Regions from separate parts of the Homo sapiens genome. Here all the other regions are linked to region 1. Evidence: promoter capture Hi-C in human tissues and cell types (Jung and others, 2019). All regions are on one chromosome and are shown on one strand. The core of a region is centred on a gene start or on the middle of the fragment in contact, and the rest is flanking DNA. Distances in the headings are between cores, read along the strand shown. Region 1 holds the start of NKX6-2 (NK6 homeobox 2). Region 2 overlaps INPP5A (inositol polyphosphate-5-phosphatase A). Region 3 overlaps INPP5A (inositol polyphosphate-5-phosphatase A).

Region 1 (2,700 bases), core at 68-2,567:
GTGGAGCCGGAAGCCGCCGGGGCAGCCCCGAGCGCGCACACACCCGGCGGCCGCACCACTGCCCCGGAGTTTGGCCGCAGGTGGCTTTTCCAAGCCGCCATCCAGGAGCGGCCGACGGCGCCAAGTCCCCGCCTCGACCTGCACAAAACGAAAACGGACGCTGGAGGGGGGCGAGGGGGCGGACGTGAGACCCCGGCCCCGAACCCCGGGCGCCGCCTTCCTCCGCGGCACAGGCCCGAGAGAGGCCACGCAGCGGCGTTCCCTGCGCACAGACTCGGGCTCCCCACGAGCCGTGGGCCACAGCCACAGCCGCCCCGTGTCCCTAAATCAATACGAGACGTCACCACAGACGTCGGAGCGTTTGCTCGCGGCCGCCGTGCGCGGGGCTCGGAGTCATCTCACCGCCCGGTCTGCGGGATGGATGAGCGAGCGGCTCCCGGTGCCGTGGGGGCGGGGGGGACACCGGCCCCCCGCGCGCGTCTAAGGCCGCGTTTCTGCCGCTGCGCCCCCAGCCCGCACCCACGTTCGGGCCCTGGACAGGGCTTCCGCGCTGAGGCCGTCCTGGTCTCTGTTCTCCCGGCCGGGGATTCGCGAGAGGCGGCCCGTGGGCGAAGTCGTGGGCCCAGGTCACATCCTGGGGGACCCCCAGCGGGAGACCTGGAGGCCGATGACGGGGAAGTGCCGAGCCGCGCGTGTGGTCCCGGGACCCGCCTCCCCGCCCCGCTCCCGCCTGCCTCACTCCTCCACCGCGCCGGCCGCGTGTCGGCGAAACCAGAGGCAGCTCCGTGCGAGCCTCGCCCGGCCGTGAGGCCCGTGGATTCCGTGGACTCGAGGCCCGCGTCCTCCGCCCTCCTGTGGCCCCGACCTGCCCGGAGCGCGTTCCCCGCCGGCGTCCGCTGCCGCTCACACCCACCCCAGCCACGGGCGGCGGAGCAGTCGCGACTGGGACGCGGGCCGGGACTCTTCCCCGAGTGGGGCGCTCCGAGCGCGCGGGCGGGTCCTCAAATCTGCATTCTTTCCGTTAATAAAATACGTTCTCGTATTTTTTCCTGATTTCGCATGAAAACCTTTGCCTAACTACACTCCCATCCAAGCTGGATTTATTTCGTCCCCGGGGAGATAAATCGGGGCGAATTTACAGCCCGGGAGGCACCTGCCGCGCTAATGGGCCCTTCATGGAGTGCGCGGCCGGCGGGGGCGCGCGGGCGGGGGGGGGGCGCCGGCCAATGGCCGGACCGCGGGGTCCGCAGCCAATCAGCGCGCGCGCCGCGCCCCGGGGAGCCCCCGTTATCAGCGCGTCCGTCCCGCGCGGCGCCGCTCCGACCGGCCCCGGAGCCGCCGCCGCCGCCGCCCGCCCGCCCGCCCCGCGCCGGAGCCGCCCGCCCGCCCCCCGCGCCCCGCGCCCCGCGCTGCAGCCGACGCCCGCCCGGGCCGCGCGCAAACTTCCCGGGCCGGCGGGCAGGGGCGGCGGCGGCGGGGCCCGGATGGGAGCCCGGGCCGGCGGCGGCGGCGCCCATGGACACTAACCGCCCGGGCGCGTTCGTGCTGAGCAGTGCCCCGCTGGCCGCGCTGCACAACATGGCCGAGATGAAGACGTCGCTGTTCCCCTACGCGCTGCAGGGTCCGGCCGGCTTCAAGGCGCCCGCGCTGGGGGGCCTGGGCGCGCAGCTCCCGCTCGGGACCCCGCACGGCATCAGCGACATCCTGGGCCGGCCCGTGGGCGCGGCGGGCGGGGGCCTCCTGGGGGGGCTGCCCCGGCTCAACGGGCTCGCGTCGTCCGCCGGCGTTTACTTCGGGCCCGCGGCCGCTGTGGCGCGCGGCTACCCCAAGCCCCTGGCCGAGCTGCCGGGGCGCCCGCCCATCTTCTGGCCCGGCGTGGTGCAGGGCGCGCCCTGGAGGGACCCGCGTCTGGCTGGCCCGGGTGAGTGGCCCGCGCGGGGGGTGCGGGGCGGGTGGGCGCGGAGGGGGACCCCGCCGGCCGCTGACCTCCCTCCCTTCCCCTCCCTTGCAGCCCCGGCCGGCGGCGTCCTGGACAAGGACGGGAAGAAGAAGCACTCGCGCCCGACCTTCTCGGGCCAGCAGATCTTCGCGCTGGAGAAAACCTTCGAGCAGACCAAGTACCTGGCGGGCCCGGAGCGCGCGCGTCTCGCCTACTCGCTGGGCATGACCGAGAGCCAGGTGAAGGTGAGCGCGGCGGGGCTCGGGAGAGCAGAGCCGGGGGCCCGCGTCCTGCGAACGGCCCCAGCGCCAGCCCCGGGCCCCGCGGCCGCCTGACCGCCCCGTCCACTCCCAGGTCTGGTTCCAGAACCGCCGGACCAAGTGGCGCAAGCGGCACGCGGTGGAGATGGCGTCGGCCAAGAAGAAGCAGGACTCGGACGCCGAGAAGCTGAAGGTGGGCGGCTCGGACGCGGAGGACGACGACGAATACAACCGGCCCCTGGACCCCAACTCGGACGACGAGAAGATCACGCGGCTGCTCAAGAAGCACAAACCCTCGAACTTGGCGCTGGTCAGCCCGTGCGGCGGCGGCGCGGGGGACGCCTTGTGAGGACCCGCGGGGTGGGGGCGAATCTATTTTTGCAGAATCCGGGGGCGGCCCCGGGTGGGCGCGAGTCGCTTTGTATCATCAATAAATTATTTAACGGGTCCCCGTCGGAGCCGTCGCTCCGGAGCCTGCGCCGCGTGTTTCTTCCGTCTCGA
Region 2 (2,700 bases), core at 73-2,572, 92 kb after region 1:
CATCACCTTAGGGGTTAGGAGGTCAGCAGATGAATTTGGGGGTGGGGGGCACCTACTTTCCAACCATAGAACTATCCATGAAGATGAAATCTCTCTCCATTTATCTAGATCTTCCTTATTTCATCAGAGTTTTATAGTTTTCCTCACAGAGATCTTGTATTAATTTGTTAGATTTATTCCTAAGTACTTCCTTTTGGTGTGTGCTTAAGCAAATGGTATTATGTTTTTAATTTAAAATTCCACCTGTTCATTGCTGCTACACAGGAAAGCAATTGATTTCTGTATCTTAACTAGGCATCCTGCAATGTTGCTATAATTGCTTACTGGTACCAGGTTTGTCTGTTATTGTTGCTGACTCTTTGAGATTCTTGACATAATCATATCATCTGAGAACAGAAATAGTTCTATCTCCCATCACCCCATCAACATGGCTTTTATTTCCTTTTCTTGTCTTATTACATTATCTAAGATTTTCAGTAAGATGTTGAAGAGAAGTAGGAGAGGAGGCATCCTTGCCTTGTTCCTGATCTCATAGGAAAAGCATCTAATTTCTCATTAAGTGTGGTATTCATTGTAGGATTTTTGGAGCTCTTCTTTATCAGGTTGAGGAACTTCCCCTCTATTCCTAGTTTGCTGGGAGTTTTTTTTCAAACAATGAAGAGATGTGGATTTTGGGAAATGCTTTTTCTGCATCTATCCTATGATCATGTGATTTTCCTTCTTTTGCCTGCTGCTGTGATGGATTACATTAATTGATTTTTAAATGCTGAACCAGCCTCTATACCAGGAGTAAATCTCGGTTGGTCATAGTATATAACTGACTCTTGAGAATTTTGTTGAGCATTTTTGTTTACAGTTCATAGTTTTCCTTCTTTGTAATGTCTTTATCTGGTTTTAGTATTAGGGTAATGCTGGCCTCATAGAATGATTTAGGACGTTTGTCCTCTGCTTATATTTTCTGGAAAAGATTGTAGAGAACTGGTATAACGTCTTCCTTAAATGCTTGATAGAATTCACCAGTGAAACCATTTGGTCTGATGCTTTCTTTTTCAGCAGGTTATTAATTACTTATTCAGTGTTGTTAATAGCTATAGACCTGTTCAGATTCTCTAGTTTTCCTTTTATGAGTTTTCATAGATTGTGTCTTTCAAGGAATTGGCCCATCTAAGTTATTACATTTATAGGCAGAAATTAATGATATTCTTTTATTATCCTTTAAATGTCCACAGGATCGGCAGTAATGGCCCCTCTCTAATTTCTGATATTAATAATCTGTGTCTTCTCTCTCTTTTTCTTAGTCTGGCTAGAGGTTTATCGATTTTATTGATCGCTTTAAAGAATCAGCTTTTGGTTTTGCTAATTTTCTCTATTCATTTCCTGTTTTCAATTCTGTTGCTTTCTGTTCCAATTTTCATTATTTCTTTTCTTCTGCTTACTTTGGAATTTTCTTTTCTTCTCCTAGCTTCCTAAGGTAGAAGCTTAGATAATTGATTTTAGCTCTTTCTTCCTTTCTTCTTAGCACTTTTTTCTTTTTAGCTCTTTCTTATATGCATTTGATGCTATAAATTTACCTCTAAACATTACTTTTGCTAATATCCCATGAATGTTAAGCTGTATTTACGTTTTCATTTGGTTCAAAATATTTTTAAATTTCTCTTGAGACTTCTTTGACTCATATGTTATTTAGATATGTGTTGTTTAATGTTCAAGTATTTGGGGATTTTCCAGCTACTTTTCTGGTGCTGATTTCTGGTTTAATTCCATTGTAATCTATGAGCATGCTGTATATGGTTTCTGTTCTTTTAAATTTGTAAAGGTGTGTTTTATGGCCCAGAATGTGATGTCTCAGTGAATGTTCCAGGCGAGCTTGACAAAAACGTAGATTCTGCTGTTACTGGATGAGGTATCCTATAAGTGTCAATTAGATCAATTTGTTTGATGGTGCTGTTGAGTTAAACTATGTCTTTCCTGATTTTATGCTTGCCAGATCTGTTCATTCCTGATACAGGGTGTTGAAGTCTCTAACTATGATAGTGGGTTCATCTGTTTCTCTTGGCAGCTCTACTTGGTTTGCCTTGTGTATTTGACACTCTGTTGTTAGGCAGCTAGATACTAAGGATTGTTATGTATTCTTGGAGATCTGATCTTTTCATCATGATGTAATGTCCCTCTTTACTGCTGAAAACTTTCCTAGCTCTGAAGTCTGCTCTGCCTATTCTGATAATTTCTGACATGAATAATTTGTGTCATTTTTTTTCTTAGTCTGGCTAGAGGTTTATCCATTTTATTGTTTTTTTCAAACAACCAGCTTTTGGTTTAATTTACTTTTCTTCTAGTTTCCTAAGGTACAAGCTTAGATAATTGATTTCAGATCTTTCTGCTTTTCTAATATATGTATTTGATGCTATAAATTAATATAGCTCCTCCAGCTTTCTTTTGGCCCATTTAAGTTTTCCTTTGATTCATGTTAGAACACTATACCTTCCTCCATCCCTTATCTATTAATCTTTAGGTGTTTATATAAATGGGTTTCTAGAAGACAACATATAGTTGGGTATTTTTTTTAATCCACTCTGACAGTCTCTGTCCTTTAATTGGTATATTTAGACCATTCACATTTAAAGGGATCGTTGATATAGTTGGAGTAATATTTACCATATTTGTAAGTTTTCTATTTGTTGCCTTTGTTCTTTGTATCTT
Region 3 (2,700 bases), core at 61-2,560, 110 kb after region 1:
CCAACTAGGTGGCAATACTTTGCAGGGCTGGGACAAAGTTCTCCAGAGGGCCATGGATGCTCTGAATCAGCGTCCAATATATGATACTGTTTCTCCCATAGCCAGGATTCACGGGTCCGGGAATCAAGGGTGGAAGTGGAAGTGGCACCACTCACCATCACCCCTAATGATCCACTAGCAAAAGTTTTGCTTCCTGTTCCTGCAACATTACGTTCTGCTGGCCTAGCGTTATTAGTTCCAGAGGGAAGAATGCTGCCACCGCGAGACCAAACAGCAATCCCACTGAACTGGAAGTTAAGATTGTCACCTGGATACTCTGGGCTCCTCCTACCTTTATGTCAATAGGCTAAGAAAGGAGTTACACTGTTGGGGTGATTGATCTGGTCTATCAAGGTGAAATCAGTCTACTACTCTGCAACGAAGCTAAGGAAGAGTATACATGGAATACAGGAGATCCATTAGGGCGTCCCATAGTATTACCATGCCTTGTGATTAAGGTCAACGGGAAACTACAACAGCCCAATCCAGGCAAGACTACAAGTGACCCAGACCCCTCAGGAATGAAGGTTTGGGACATTCCACCAGGAAAAAAACCACGACCCGCTGAGGTGATGCTGAAGGCAAAGGGAATACAGAATGGACAGTAGAAGAAGGCAGTCATCAATACCAGGGGAGTGGGGTGGGGCGTGGAAGGCGTGGGGTCCAACGCACATGTAACTGGAACCTAGAGGGAATGCAGAGGGGGAGTGGAAGTCGTTTTTGAAGAGATGAGAAATCACGTTTTTCCAAACTTAGGAAAGACCTTGTATTAGTTTGTTTTCACACTGCTGATAAATACATACCCGAGACTGAGGAATTTACAAAAGAAAGAGGTTTAATATGGACTTACAGTTCCACATGGCTGGTAAGGCCTCACAATCATGGCAGAAGGCAAGGAGGAGCAAGTCACATCTTATATGGATGGAAGCAGGCAAAGAAAGAGCTTGTGCAGGGAAACTCCTCTTTGTAAAACCATCAGATCTCATGAGACCCACCCACCACCATGAGAACACCATGGGAAAGACCTGCCCCCATGATCCCCTTGCCTCCCGCAGGGTCCCTCCCATAACATGTGGGAATTCAAGATGAGATTTGGGTGGGGACGCAGCCAAACCATATTATTCCATCCCGACCCCTCCCAGATCTCCTGTCCTCACATTTCAAAACCAATCGCCAACCCAAATATTATTTCATAAAGTTGACAATACTTAAATGCTGATATGAAGTGAATAAATCTTATGTCACATGATAAAGGAAAAGGAAATAAAATGAAGATATTTTCTTAGTACAAGTGTATACATGCACAAACATGTTTTTAGCAAAAGAATGTCACAATGCTCAATAAGAGCCACTTAACAAAACGTAGTTCTCTCCCTACATCCTTGGGAAAGGAACTACTGAATTTTGACCTCTAACGAAACCTGTCCTCAAGCTTTAAAACCTACAGTTTAGCTGAATATTGGACAACAGTCACCTCTAATCAATGCTGTCCACCCTGAGCACCACCCCCACCGTCACCCTGGCTGAAGCTGGCCTTTCCTGCGCTGTCCCCTTCTGAGAGCAGAGCAGGCTGGTTGAGAGTACAGGCTCTGAGGCCAGAACCAAGTTCAAATCCCACATTGGCCTCTTCTGGTTGGTCCCTGAACCTCTCTGTGCCTCAACATCTCTATCTGTGACACGGGGAAGACAAATAACAGTACCCACTTCATAGGGCTGCTCTGATCCCTGCATGGGTGGCACATGTAAGGCACATGAAACAGTATCAGGAAGCTCATGTGCCAACGGCTATTCCAGGAGGTGTTGGTGCTGCTTCCTGTCAGCACCTTCCCATGCTGGAGGAGCCGCAGAATACGGCCCCAACACATCCTTGGCTGATGATGGGATCAACAGGCATGGCAGGAAGGGCTGTGCCAGCCAAGAAGGTTGTGTCCTTCCAAAGCAAGGAGGTAGATACCGAAGCAGAAAGGGTGGAGTCAGAAGCAGGGAGGGCGGAGTCCAGAGCAGGGAGGGCCGAGTCCGAAGCAGGGAGGGCGGAGTCCGAAGCAGGGAGGGCGGAGTCCAGAGCAGGGAGGGCGGAGTCCGAAGCAGGGAGGGCGGAGTCCGAAGCAGGGAGGGCGGAGTCCGAAGCAGGGAGGGCACAAGCCTCGCCGCAGCCCACGTTTGAACTCTCCACTCCTAAGTCATCTGTGCCTCCCTTGGGCCCAGGGGAGGCCACGGCTCCAGGGGCCCCAGTTGCCCACTGGCCACCAGTGTGACCCACTGTCCCAATCAGAAGGGAGAGACAGGGACACTCCTGACAGATGGAGGCGTGCCCACATGCCCATGCCTCACTCCAGAAGGAGTGGGCCACCTGCTGCTTCCAACAATATGAAAGAGAGACCTTCTCTTTTCTTTACTGAGGCCAAACCATGAGCAACCCTTACGGGAAAAGACATCCAAAGAAAGCTATCTCCCACTAATGGCCCTGTTATAAATTAGACCTGACTGACAAAGACCAAGGAAAAGTGACGCCCGTCAAGCCGTCACCGCCGTTTGCAGTTTCTCCACTTTGGCACCGCTGTCCTGACCACATGAATATCCATCATTTTCCTTAAAAAAAAAAAAAAAAAAAAAAGAAAGAAAGACACTGCCAAGAAATCAGTTTCTATAGGACAAGGAGCT

Evidence for each region. Contacts are between HindIII fragments. The study calls those that stand out against the background at their distance.
Region 2: a contact is called between a fragment that was not itself captured here and the fragment with the promoter of NKX6-2 in region 1, in 2 of the 25 tissues and cell types used here (H1 embryonic stem cells and hippocampus).
Region 3: a contact is called between a fragment that was not itself captured here and the fragment with the promoter of NKX6-2 in region 1, in 2 of the 25 tissues and cell types used here (H1 embryonic stem cells and mesendoderm cells).

Annotation. Positions count from the first base shown.
Region 1 is chr10:132,784,764-132,787,463 of GRCh38, reverse strand. It overlaps NKX6-2 (NK6 homeobox 2), which reads left to right and starts at 1,317. Exons shown (of 3, transcript NM_177400.3): 1 at 1,317-1,921; 2 at 2,012-2,184; 3 at 2,294-2,700. The coding sequence starts at 1,516. The coding sequence ends at 2,548. The HindIII fragment of the contact is 14,696 bases long and covers 1-2,700 here.
Region 2 is chr10:132,693,256-132,695,955 of GRCh38, reverse strand. The region is part of intron 5 of INPP5A (inositol polyphosphate-5-phosphatase A); the gene reads right to left. Among named protein-coding and RNA genes, the nearest start is that of NKX6-2, 92 kb to the left of the region's middle. The HindIII fragment of the contact is 5,717 bases long and covers 1-2,700 here.
Region 3 is chr10:132,670,797-132,673,496 of GRCh38, reverse strand. The region is part of intron 4 of INPP5A (inositol polyphosphate-5-phosphatase A); the gene reads right to left. Among named protein-coding and RNA genes, the nearest start is that of NKX6-2, 110 kb to the left of the region's middle. The HindIII fragment of the contact is 5,981 bases long and covers 1-2,700 here.